4 separate regions of the Homo sapiens genome follow, and all the other regions are linked to region 3. Evidence: promoter capture Hi-C in 16 types of primary human blood cells and fetal thymus (Javierre and others, 2016). All regions are on one chromosome and are shown on one strand. The core of a region is centred on a gene start or on the middle of the fragment in contact, and the rest is flanking DNA. Distances in the headings are between cores, read along the strand shown.

Region 1 (3,146 bases), core at 13-2,512, 150 kb after region 3:
AATCCACTGTACTAATTGTTACATTATGTAATATATTTATTATATTACATAAACACACCAGTTAAAAGGCAGAAATTGCAGTAAAAGAATCAGCAGGCTTTTTTGGTAGAAATGACTGGTCTATTTTAAAATATAGGCCGGGCGTAGTGGCAGGCACCTGTAATCCCAGCTACTTGGAGGCTGAAGCGGGAGAATCACTTGAACCCGGGAGGTAGAGATTGCAGTGAGGCGAGATTGAGCCACTGTACTCCAGCTTGGGTGACAACAGGGAGACTCCGTCCGAAAAAATAAATAAATGAGTAAATAAAATAAAATATATATGGAAATGCAAAGGATCTAGAGTATCCAAAACAATTTTGCAAAAGAAACATAAAGTTGAAGGAGTTATACCATCTGATTTCAAGACTCATCAACAAAACTGAAATAATCAAGACAAGATGAGGCTGGCATAATAGTACATACAGAGATCAATCAAATTATTGATGAGGTGAGAGTGTTGCACTGGGAGCAGCTGGCCTTGGAACATGGAGGGGAAAGGAGGATGCTGAAACCAAAGTAAGTTCCATAGGTGGGCTTTAGGTAGGCAGAAAGGAGGCCCCAACCTTGCCAAAGTAATGAAGGTTTTCCTTTCGTGTGGAGGCTTTAGTGTATTTAGTGTAGCTCATTCTTGGGAAATACTGCCAATTTCTCCATTACTCCTTAGTGTGGCAGTCTGATGTAGCCATAATCTTGCTTTCCTTTTTTTTTTGGGACGGAGTTTCACTCTTGTTGTCCAGCCTGGAGTGCAATGGTGGGATCTTGGCTCACCGCAACCTCTGCCTCACAGGTTCAAGCGATTCTCCTGCCTCAGCCTCCTAAGTAGCTGGGATTACAAGCATGCGCCACCACGCCCAAGTAATTTTGTATTTTTTTTTTTTTCAGTAGAGATGGGATTTCTCCATGTTGGTCAGGCTGGTCTCAAACTCCCAACCTCAGGTGATCCATCCAACCCAGCCTCCCAAAGTGCTGAGATTACAGGCATGAGCCACCACGCCCGGCCCTTGCTTTCCATTTCTCTCGTACTCCTTCTGTCTCTCTCTCTTCCTTTCACCTCAGTGGCCAGGCTAGTAGCTGTCTCCAGATGGTCACACCACTTTTTAGAAAGCAGTGCTCAAGGCTTCAGGCTAGTGAAAAAGCTTCACTCAGTCAGGTACTCCTAGTACTTAGGGAATGGGAAGGGACAGGATTGGCCTAGTTATTCCACAGGAAGTCCTTCAGTTGATCCTTATAGATGTCCTACAGTTACCCCAGCTCCTGGACCTTTTGGGGGAAAATTACATTACTGCATACAATTTCTTTTCCCCAGATTTAAAGCTTATGTGATATATAGCAATTTCCCTGCTTATTTCTGAAGGAGTTATAAACCTCATAGACTTTTTAGAGAATCATTTATTTCTTCGAAAAGAATCTAATCTGAACTGACCTGGCTTTAAATTTCTCATCAGAAATTTAAAATACAGGCAAACTTGAGCAAAATGCTTTTTTGTATCAAGTCTGCTTTAATCAATATTTCTCTTCTTTTTCTTTTCATAAAAGCTACTACTATTATCTCTTTGAGAAAACTAAAACCATAAATAATGTGCAGGTTTGAAAAAAATTGATCAATGCTGGATGTCATCATTAGAGTTCAAACTTCCTTTTAAAAAATTTTTTGACTTAATTTTACTTTTACTTTTTATGGTTTTTTTTTTTTTTTTTTTTGAGACAGAGTCTCGCTCTGTCACCCAGGCTGGAGGGCAGTGGTGCAACCTCTGCCTCAGCTCACTGCAACCTCTGCCTTTCAGGTTCAAGCAATTTTCCTGCCTCAGCCTCCTGAGTAGCTGGGATTACAGGTGTGTGCTGCCACGCCTGGCTAATTTTTGTATTTTTAGTAGAGATAGGTTTTCACCATGTTGGTTAGGCTGGTCTCGAACTCCTGAACTTAGGTGATCCACCTGCCTTGGCCTCTCAAGGTGCTCAGCCTCTCAAGGTGCCTGGCCTATTTTTTATGTATTTTTGAAGACAGGGTCTCATTCTGTCACCCAGGCTGGAGTGCAGTGGCATGATCATAGTTCGCGGTAGCCTCAACCTCCCAGACTCAAGTGATCCTCCTGCCTTAGCCTTCTGAGTAGCTAAGACTTCAAGTGCATGCCACCACATCCAGCTAATATTTTTAGCTGGATAATTATTATTATTATTATTATTATTATTATTATTATTATTTTGTAGAGACAGACTCCCACTGTGTTTCCCAGGATGGTCTCAACTTCTTGGGCTCAAACAATACTCCCACCTCGGCCCCCCAAAGTGGTGTGATTACAGGCATGAGGTACTATAGTTGCCCAGCCAGGGCTCAAGCTTTCGTGCAAACAAGACCCTCCATAAAAGAAAATCTCATCTTTGCTTGGAATGCCTGATAATACATTACAAAAGGCTTTATGGTATATATGTAAACCTTTGTTGATTAAAAGTTCTTGCAAATTCCAATGTGATTTTTTTTACTGGGTCCTAGGTTTAACAATGCTTTATCATAATGAACTTAGTGATTGATGATTTCATAGTACATAAGAATGTGTTTCCCTGATAAGACTTGCTATCCTTGAGTGGAAAGAATGAAATTCCCGGTTGCATAGAAATGTGTACACACACACACACACGCATGCACACATATTTTATATGTATCATCACGTGTGTGTGTGTGTGTGTGTGTGTGTGTGTGTGTGTGTGTGTGTGTATTTTCTGGTTTAGACCATCTCAGTAGGTTCACATTTCAGTGGCAGAAAATGTATGAAAAAAAGCATGGTAAAGCCTCATGCTCATTTTGGACGCTGTCCTTGGCAGAACTGAAAAGAGACCTCATAGAACTCTGACAGATCTAGACAGAAAGCTGATGCCCTTTCTCTCTAGATCTTCCCACTACAGAATGTCTAAGATACCAATGGTCTTAGTCTGTTCAGGCTGCTATAACAAAAATATCTTAAACTGGATGGCTTATAAACAACAGAAATTTATTTCTCACAGTTCTGGAGGCTGAGAAGTCCACAATCAAGGTCCCAATAGATTTGGTGTCTGGTGAGGGCCTGCTCCTTAGTTGGAGCACCTTTTCACTGTTTCCTCACATGGTGGAA
Region 2 (3,465 bases), core at 730-3,229, 230 kb after region 3:
ATTTCATATCCACTAGATTGGCTATAATTCGAAAGTCAGATAAAAAATGTCGACAAAGATACGGAGAAATGAGACTTTTCATACACTGCTAGTTGAATGTAAAATGGCACAGCTGCTTTGTTGAACTTCCTGGTAGTTCCTTTAATAGTTAAACATAGAGTTGCCATATAAGCTAGTGATAGATGCAAGAGGCAGTTAAAGGAACCTACACAGGGTCTTACCTGGGCATGCCCGCAACAGACTGGGGGCCTGCATGCACCCTGAAAAAATGGGGTGGAGCCACCAAGGATTTTCACCTTATGCAGCGGGAGAAGCCTAGCCTCTTCACCTTTGTGTGTGGTGGCCTGGTATTCACTCTATGAGTTGGGAGCCTGTTGGCAGGACCCCTTCTTTCTTTGCTGTGGGCTTTCTTTTTGCTTAATATATCTGCCCTCCTCATCCTTCAATGTGTCTGTGTGTCTAATTTTCCCTGGTCATGAGTCAAGAGCCTGGATTTTAGCTGAACTAAGGAGCAAAAAATCCTGCATCACTAGCATTTCCACCCTTAGGTATATACCCAAGGTAAATGAAAATACATGTCCATACAGAAACTTGTACATAAATGTTTATAGAAGTAGTATTCATAATAATGAAAAGGTGAGAACAACCCAAATGCTCATCAACTGATGAATGGATAAAATGTAATATCTTCATACAATGGAATATTGTTTGCCACAAAAAGGAATGACACATAAATACATGCTACCATTGGGGTGCAGAAAACAGTTCCTCAAAATATAGTGCTTGGGCATATTGAATGCTTTTGCAAATTAAAAGGCCTCAGAAATAAGCCTCAGAATTAAGATCCTTCTAACATTGTCTTGTTCCTCCCCCAACCCCAAGTACAGGGAACAATTTTTGACTGGAACTTCCTTATCTGACCAAGAAAGCTTATTACCAAAAGAAACACAATTACCTTCTATCCTCTCCCTGAAATCTCATTATCTATTGCAGAAAAGAAGACTGAGGAATGCAACCACAACTGAATGGACTTTTCCACAAGATAATTTCTGCCTCTTGGACCCATTCAAATTCCAAAGAGAATCATTTAGAAATTAATTTGTCTCCCTAGTTCATTCATTCTCCCTAATTATCATGTACTACCACTCAAAAGAATTGTCTACATTTCCCACTTCCTTTCTCCCCTATGAAAAGGGTAAATAAACTTTTGTACCCCATTTGGAGGTTAGGCATGTTAATAAAATGTGTATGCCTTTTCTCCTCCTGCCTTTTGTCAGGTAATTTTCGGTAAACTTTCAGAGGGCAAAGGGGAAGTTTGCCTTTCATCCTTACAGTCTGGTACTGTACACTTAGTAACAAATCACTCTGTTCATTCTGAGGGCTATGAATGGGATCTTGGGACAGTTGACAAAAAGCCAGAAAAGAAAGGTAAGAATTTGTTTTTGTTTTTTTTTAACCAGGTAAGTTCTCCCAGATAGCTGCCTGTGGTGCCAGATCAAATAAAGGTAGTAAGAGTATTTGTCTTTTTCCCTCCCCAAATTGGGTTAACAGGTGGGGTTTGGGGAAGGGAGTATGAGAACTAGCTCACTTATGAAATAAGTTAATTGTCTATATTTAACTTTTTAGAGAATTCTGTCTTAAACCCTTATCCTATCGGTATCTATGAAAAGATACAAAAAGAATATGGCCTAAAAAGTTCCCTTGGCAAGGTTAATAAAAAAGAGAAACAAAGCAGAAATCGGATTTAAAACAAAGTTAAAATATTTTGTACACTCAAACTGGCTTCCTTGAATTCCCTGAAAAGTTTGCAATGAAGGACATTCCATTTTGTAATCTTGTAGTTAAAATGCCATGTTTTTACCACAATGTCCTGGGTTTGATTGCCAGTCAGGGAATCTGTCGCTTGGAAACGTAAGTCCTTTAACTTGGGAGAAGAAACGTTTATTTAAAAATTGATTTGATGTTTGTGTTACTCTTGACTTTTGGGGTACCCATTTGTTATTAATCCTTTTCCCTTTCGTTTATAGTTTTTGATTTCCTGTCTTCTGTCTCTATGAGGCACATAAGGCTTTCAGGCCTTTTTGTGTAGATCAGATGAAAAGCTGGGACCCTAGAGAATATGGCTGGACAAAAATGTGGCTTGTACCCACTTTGTGACTAGCAAAACATTTCTTTATTTGAGCTGTCTTTGGAGGTGGTTCTGGATCTTTTGAGAATGGCATTGCACCTCCTTGGACACACCTCACACATCCTTGGTTGTTTAGCTGTCTTTGGGGTGGTTCTGCATCTTGTGAGGATCATTTTGCACCTCTTTGGAGATATCTTGTGGTTACTTGGTTAAGTCAAAACCTTGGTTAAGACTTACTGGTTTTGGTGAGTCACTTGGAAAGTTATCTATGGTTTAAAAGAAAAAGGTTCAAAAGCTAGTAATATTGGCTGTTTTTCCTGGCTAAAATCTGATAAGATATTTGAAAAGATGTTTTTAAGAGCTGTGTGGTCAAAGTCAGCTTAATTAAAAGCTGATATTTGGCCGGGCGTGGTGGCTCACATCTGTAATCCCAGCACTTGGGAGGCCGAAGCGGGCGGATCCCCTGAGGTCAGGAGTTCGAGATGAGCCTGGACAACATGGTGAAACCCAGTCTCTACTAAAAATATAAAAAAATTAGCTGGCATGATAGCGCATGCCTGTAATCCCAGCTACTCAGGAGGCTGAGGTAGGGGAACTGCTTGAACCCGGGAGGTGGAGGTTGCAGTGAGCCGGGACCGCACCATTGCACTCCAGCCTGGGCAACAAGAATGAAACTCCGTCTCAGAAAAAACAAACAAATAAAGGCTGATATTCAGGAGATAGCCAGCTAGCTAGATATGCCTTTCTACTCTTTCTCTTTTGGATTATGTTTCTCTCCTGGGAACTTTTTTTTTTTCAGTCAACTAAACCCCTTTTCAATTATGTTTGATCCTTGTTTATCTCTTTTCTTATTGATGTAATTTTTACTGAGAAAAAATGTAAAGTTTCATTGGCCTTCTGGAAAGCTTAACATCGTCTCAAATTGGGTCCTCTAAGACTTGTTCTCTCATTTATTTCTACTCCTTCTTTTTTTTTGCTACCATTTATATTACATAAATCTATGTTACATTTAGTGACCCTGAGATCCTTGAGGAACACAGTAAAAGCCACCACATATCCCCTTTTCAGGGTCTTTTATTTTCCTCATGGAGTTCCAAGCATTATGGGCAGGTCTCTCTCAGGTCTAAAAGCTGTGCTGTCTCTCACATTAAGCATCTCTTTGGTTTTTGAGCGTAGCAGGGGCTAATATGTATTGTAAGAGCACTTGAATTTTGGGTATGTGATGGCTGGCAAGTCCCTGGCAAAGCTGCAGTTTTGAAGGTGGGCTGATAGTGGTTGCAGTGAGTGGTTATTACTGTAGATGGCTACTCATTTCTTTGTGCATTTAGATGAGAAAA
Region 3 (3,263 bases), core at 318-2,817:
TGATGAACATCTTACTAGGGAAATGAAAATTAAAACTATCATTTGACACCCTCTAAAATGACTATAATAGAAAGACAAGCAATAATAGGTGAGGATGTCGAGAAACCGGAACTCTCATTCATTGCTGATGGGAATGTAAATTGGTACAGCCGTTTCGGAAAACAGTTTTTTACAGTTTCTTAAAAAGTAAATTTACCATATAACCCAGTAATTCTGCTCCTACATATCTACTCAAAATAAATGAAAACCTGAGGTTACTCAAACACTTGCATGTAAATGTTCATAGAAACTTTATTCATAGATAAAAGGTAGAAACCCAAAGCTAGAAACAACCCAAATATTCACCAGCTGCTGAAGGTATAATCAGAATATCATGTACTATACATGTATTGATAAATGTATTTTTGTATGCATTAATATTTTTAATAGATTTTACATATCTATAAAATGGTGTTATATTTATGGAGTCCTATAAACTATGGATTTATTTTAACATATACACAACAATATGCTCATATATAATTTCTTTTTTTAATTTGTGCAAATGTATGGAGTACATAAGAAAATTTGTTGTATATATATAATATGTAGTGATTAAGTCATATATATAATTTCAAATTAGCATCTCTTCCATTTTCAGGCCAGATACAAATCTGGGCTCAGATTCTAGCTCTCTCACTTCTTAGCTCTGTGCTCCCATGCTAGTAACTTAACCTCTCTGAGTGTGTACTAGTTAAGTACAGGCACTAATGTACACCTTACAGGACTGTAGAATTAAAGGAGATAATGCTTAACACTGGAATGGCATAATGTCAGTCCTTAATAAATCATATCCAGTATTATTATTTGTATTTTTCGAGTTTCATTTGCAAGTCTAGATTTTTACTAGTAATCATGGTGAGTAGGAAGAAGCATTTCGTTCAGTGGAGAAAGACACCTCTCTGTACTTTCAGCTCTCCAACTTCTGACGTTTCACTTAATCTCTGAGAGCCTCAGTTGCCAACATCTATAAATGAGAATCATGTTATTCATCTCACAGTATTTATGATTAGAAAAACTTATTGAAGTGCTTTGTAAACTGCAAAGTAGGATAAAATTATGAAATACTATATTATTATGACCTTTTGTCCCCATCAATACCACCTACAGTATGTTTATAGAAGAACCAAAATAACTACCCATGGAGTATTGTGGAGACATTTCTCAACCCTAAGATTATAATGAAAGAATCTTTTCATGGCCATGGAGGTGGTGGCAAGTCATTTTCAAAATAAATTTTATTTCCCTGTTGTTTGAATACAAAGTGAGAAGAACTGTGTTACTCCTTATCTGAAACACTCTGCCTGTCCTCATGAGCTATCAGACTCAGCTAAATATGGCCCTGGCCAGTATGTTAATAATCCCCACTGGTTCTGAGACCTCCATCCACCACCGATGTGACATTCTTTGTGTTCAAATGTCTAGCTGACGTCTGATGCTTAAAACAGCCCATGCCTTCACCCCTCTCTGCATTGTCACAGCCCTGTATCACCACTCTTAAAAGGCTCCCACAGCCACTCCTAGCACCAGTTGTTGACCAGCCTGCCACTTGCCTCCCTGCCTGCTTCTGGCCGCCTTGAATGCCTGGTCCTTCAAGCTCCTTCTGGGTCTGACAAAGCAGGGACCATGTCTACCTTTGGCTACCGAAGAGGACTCAGTAAATACGAATCCATCGACGAGGATGAACTCCTCGCCTCCCTGTCAGCCGAGGAGCTGAAGGAGCTAGAGAGAGAGTTGGAAGACATTGAACCTGACCGCAACCTTCCCGTGGGGCTAAGGCAAAAGAGCCTGACAGAGAAAACCCCCACAGGGACATTCAGCAGAGAGGCACTGATGGCCTATTGGGAAAAGGAGTCCCAAAAACTCTTGGAGAAGGAGAGGCTGGGGGAATGTGGAAAGGTAGGCTCTCGGGACTTTTCCTTGGCTAACCCCACCTCCCCATCACCCCATCCCAAACCCAGACACTTGTTTTCCCTAACTTCTCAATCCTCATCACTTGAATTTTCCTATAACCCATTTATACTTGCTACTAAATCATTTTTCAGGCTGAAATAATCATGTAAATGCTATGGCCACCCAATGGATCATAATATGTAAAATTCTTAATTGGGGCTCTTTGATTGATTACAAATAGAAAGCTCAAGAGGAAAATAATTCACAATCAGTGTATGGGATTCAATATTTTGCCAAACATAAGTGTTGTTTGAGCTATATGTTGGTAATGTGGCATAATATTTGTTCCCAAGATACATGCATACGTATAAATGTATACTTTTTTTTCAGTTAAGTACATTTATTTTCTCCTATAAAGACAAAAGTGGGAACGCTGGTTGCTTTGACTGTGATAGTAGCTATGGTGAAATAGTTCTTTTCCAATACCAAGAAGTGTGGGGTGGTGGGAAGTACATGACACTGAGAGTCACAGGGCCTTGTTATGAGTCCCTGCTCTGTTCCCACATCTTTAGACCTTGAACAATCACTTTTACAGGGTTCTCTTTCCCTCTGGACATTGAGGGAGTTAGAGACAGTGTTTCTTTTGCGAATCAAGAACCCCTTTGAGATTTTGATAAGTTATGAACCTTCTTAAGAAAATAGCCCTGGGCTTGTGCAAAATACACCAACTTTTGCATAGAATTTCAAAATGATAACACATCCTGAAACCCATCTGAGGACTCAGGGGCAGCACAGCTGTATAGATGATCTCTTCGATTTCTGTCTCCTTTACGATGGTGATCCTGAGGTTAGGAAATGTGCTTATATCAGAGCTCAGGCCTATAAAGCTCTTGTGTACTGCCCAGTAAACAGTTATTTTGAATTTGCCAAATGAGTCAATACCAGAAGGAAGTCCAAAAGACTATTATTCTCTGGGAAAACAGTAATGACAATAAAGTGTCCATATAACAAAAAAAAAATTCTTCCGGAATTATGGAAGAACATAGGTCAGGAGAAACAGTTTAAAACCCTTGCACTCTGTTGGAATCATCTAAAATCAAAATGGCCTAAAGCCAATGGCAAGACTTCCACAGTACTAATCTAGGGCTGTTAGATGATCTTGATGATAGGGTTATCTTGGCCACAATTGCAGCAAGATATGTGTGAGTTTTGTCCACGTCAATCATTGCAGGAAGGGCCACTGGGATCTGGCCAGGGTCTGCCAAGGCCACAGTACTAATCAGCTAGAAGGGGTGTGTTAGAAGGAAGGACACATACAAGTCAGTACTTGG
Region 4 (3,325 bases), core at 377-2,876, 210 kb after region 3:
CTCAGTAGCTGGGACTACAGGCATGTGCCACCACGCCAAGCTAATTTTTGTATTTTTGGTAGAGATGGGGTTTCCCCATGTTGGCCAGGATGGTCTTGATCTCTTGACCTTGTGACCATCTCGGCCTCACCAAAGTGCTGGGATTATAGGCGTGAGCCACCCTGCCTGGCTCTATCTTCTCTTTTAACTCCAGTGTCTTCCCTGAGACATTCTGTTACACCAGGGGTTTGGTCTAGGTCCTGTTGCTTGCTGCAGAGAAAGCCAATCACTGAGTCAAGGAGTATTGCTGGGGAAGAAGGCCTTATTTGGGTGCTGCAGCCAAGGAGAATAAAGGATCAGTCTGGAATCCATCTCCCCAAGCAACTAAAATTTGGGGTCTATAAAGTAGGGAAGAAAAGTAACTATGTGTGGGAAAACAGGAATTAAGGAAGGGTAAGAAAGAGGACTTGGTCAACAGGCAAGTGGTCAGTTAGGCAATCATGATGAGTGAGGCATCTGGTGTCTCATTGTTTAGATGTGATAATCTGGTAAGTTTCAGTTCCTTGAAACATTCTGGGAGGCTTGATGGTTGGTTTACCGAGAAAGGAACCCAGATAAGACAAATATAACTTTCTTAAGTTTTACCCTGGGAGGGTCAATTTCTAAGTTTATTCAGAAGAAACCCAAAACATCTATTCTTTGGGATAGTTGGGCTGGTTTTAATTTCTTGCCACTCAAATCACTTTCCTTTCCATTCCTACCTACTGCTTACTCCAAGAAGTAATTGCTCCAATAAATTATCATGTAGTACTTGTTATGCATTTTTATTATTTAAATTTTACATCACCTTGCCTTCCATATAAAGTGACATCAGGCAAGCCTTTTCATCTCTCTAAGCCTCAGTTTCCCCATTTGTAAAATGGAAATGTAATTATAAGCCTTATGTAGTTATTACAAGTTTAAAAAAAATATTTACAAAGCAGTTAAGCACAATGCCTGGGATTTGATGAGTTTTGCAAAATGATGGTAAATATTATTTCACATCTTTATCTGATCATGAACTCCTTAAAGGCAAGGACTACATCTTATTCATTTTGTTTTCTGGACATGGGGTCTGGTGCTCCATGAATGTTTGTTGAATTGCATTTCCTGCCCCTGAATAGAAGCTAGGTCTCTACATATGCTTCTATATCTCAATTTATTTATAGGCCTCTTTGAGACCTTTAAGTGATACACTTTACAAATAGTCATATATAATAATAATATCTATTTATTATTTGAGTCTTTTTCCTCAAAACTATGACTAACAGAAAATTAAATCTCTCCACAGGTCTTCTAGAGTGCACTAAAGCAGAAGATAACGTAACATTTTTATCTTACCATGAAAGTATTATCTGAAGGACAGTTAAAGCTTTGTGTTGTTCAACCAGTACATCTCACTTCATGGCTCCTTATATTTTTTATTCTAAAGTCTATCTCTTGTCTAAAACCTGCTCGACTTCCAATTTATCAAAGGAAACCTTTTATAGCTGCTTGGAATGCTCCAACAGATCAGTGTTTGATAAAATATAATTTAAGACTAAATTTGAAAATGTTTCCTGTGATTGGAAGCCCACTGGCCAAGGCCAGGGGGCAAAATGTCACTATATTTTATGTCAACAGATTGGGATACTATCCGTGGTATACATCACAAGGGGTCCCCATTAATGGAGGTCTCCCACAGAACATAAGTTTACAAGTACATCTGGAAAAAGCTGACCAAGATATTAATTATTACATCCCTGCTGAAGATTTCAGTGGACTTGCTGTTATAGATTGGGAATATTGGCGACCACAGTGGGCCCGGAACTGGAACTCAAAAGATGTTTACAGACAGAAGTCAAGAAAGCTTATTTCCGATATGGGAAAGAATGTATCAGCTACCGATATTGAATATTTAGCCAAAGTGACCTTTGAAGAAAGTGCAAAAGCTTTCATGAAGGAAACCATCAAATTGGGAATTAAGAGCCGACCCAAAGGCCTTTGGGGTTATTATTTATATCCTGATTGCCACAATTATAACGTTTATGCCCCAAACTACTCTGGGTCATGCCCAGAAGACGAAGTCTTGAGGAACAATGAGCTCTCTTGGCTCTGGAACAGCAGTGCTGCTTTATATCCTTCTATCGGTGTCTGGAAATCCCTTGGAGACAGTGAAAACATTTTGCGCTTCTCCAAATTTCGGGTGCATGAATCCATGAGGATCTCCACCATGACATCTCATGATTATGCTCTGCCTGTATTTGTCTACACAAGGCTAGGGTACAGAGATGAACCTTTATTTTTCCTTTCTAAGGTAAGAAGCTTCTTGTCCAATGGTGGGGGATTTCCTCCTTATCTCTAAAAGGACATTTCTTTGTTAATTATGTTCTTTGAAGAATTGATTTCAATTAATGGTTTGTTATATGGGAGCATAATTCTTCCTTGACTAGTCATGCATTTAGACTCTTCATTTATGGAAACTGAATTTTGATTATCTTACTCATTATTATTCTCTTAAGGAACAAAGTAAGGTGAGAAAGGGTTAAAGTAGATACCAGCAACGACTACATTTCCTGCACACCAACTTTAACTGTACTCACTTACAATCGGGCATTTTGGAAGGTTATTGAAATGATCGGCAGTGAGCAGGTTAGACAATCAAAAAGGATGTTTTGAAATGGAGTGTTTGCTCATACATGTGGAAGCAGAATTGTCTAGCCACTTAAACAAAAAAATTCTAGGGAAAGTAGTGGGTATTTTAATCTTTGTTTTGTTTTTTTTTTTTCTTCAAGATGGAGTTTTTTGTTCTTGTCACCTAGGCTGGAGTGTAATGATGCAATCTCGGCTCACTGCACCCCCCACCTCCTGGGTTCAAGCGATTCTCCTGCCTCAGCCTCCCAAGTAGCTGGGTTTACAGGTGCTCACCCCCCCCCACCCAGCTAATTTTTGTACTTTTAGTAAAGACGGGGTTTCACCATGTTGGACAGGCTGGCCTTGAACTCCTGACCTCAGGTGATCCACCCTCCTCGGCCTCCCAAAGTGCTGAGATTACAGGCATGAGCCACCGTGCCCAGCCTAATCTTTGGATTTGGATAATTTTGTGTAACCTTTCTACATTGAGAAGACTCAGGACTTGTGGAGGGCTTCACATGTGTGATGCAGTGATGTTTTAAGGTATTGCTGGATACCAGTGGTTTAATATATTTTAACAGAGGCATTTTTCCTTTCTCCACCATTACAAATTTCAACTCACCAATATCTGTTAAAGACGTTCTGAGTTCTAGGCATCCTAAGGAGGAGGCATAGAAAACACCCAGGTGAGGGC

The links. Contacts are between HindIII fragments. The CHiCAGO score rates a contact against its expected background, and 5 or more counts as called.
Region 1: a fragment that was not itself captured here is called in contact with the fragment with the promoter of LMOD2 in region 3 in 1 of 17 cell types (total CD8 T cells); the score reaches 5.0 in total CD8 T cells.
Region 2: a fragment that was not itself captured here is called in contact with the fragment with the promoter of LMOD2 in region 3 in 4 of 17 cell types (erythroblasts, activated CD4 T cells, naive CD8 T cells and 1 more); the score reaches 6.7 in erythroblasts.
Region 4: a contact is called between a fragment that was not itself captured here and the fragment with the promoter of LMOD2 in region 3, in 15 of 17 cell types (megakaryocytes, fetal thymus, naive CD4 T cells and 12 more). The highest score is 12.2, in megakaryocytes.

What each region holds. Positions count from the first base shown.
Region 1 is chr7:123,805,713-123,808,858 of GRCh38, forward strand. It overlaps a transcript of HYAL4 not described here. Among named protein-coding and RNA genes, the nearest start is that of HYAL4, 38 kb to the right of the region's middle. The HindIII fragment of the contact is 178 bases long and covers 1,174-1,351 here.
Region 2 is chr7:123,887,415-123,890,879 of GRCh38, forward strand. No RefSeq gene overlaps it. Among named protein-coding and RNA genes, the nearest start is that of SPAM1, 36 kb to the right of the region's middle. The HindIII fragment of the contact is 2,104 bases long and covers 928-3,031 here.
Region 3 is chr7:123,654,299-123,657,561 of GRCh38, forward strand. It overlaps LMOD2 (leiomodin 2), which reads left to right and starts at 1,568. Exons shown (of 3, transcript NM_207163.3): 1 at 1,568-1,938. The coding sequence starts at 1,666. The HindIII fragment of the contact is 9,966 bases long and covers 1-3,263 here.
Region 4 is chr7:123,866,914-123,870,238 of GRCh38, forward strand. It overlaps HYAL4 (hyaluronidase 4), which reads left to right. Exons shown (of 5, transcript NM_012269.3): 3 at 1,310-2,314. The coding sequence starts at 1,361. Among named protein-coding and RNA genes, the nearest start is that of HYAL4, 23 kb to the left of the region's middle. The HindIII fragment of the contact is 477 bases long and covers 1,389-1,865 here.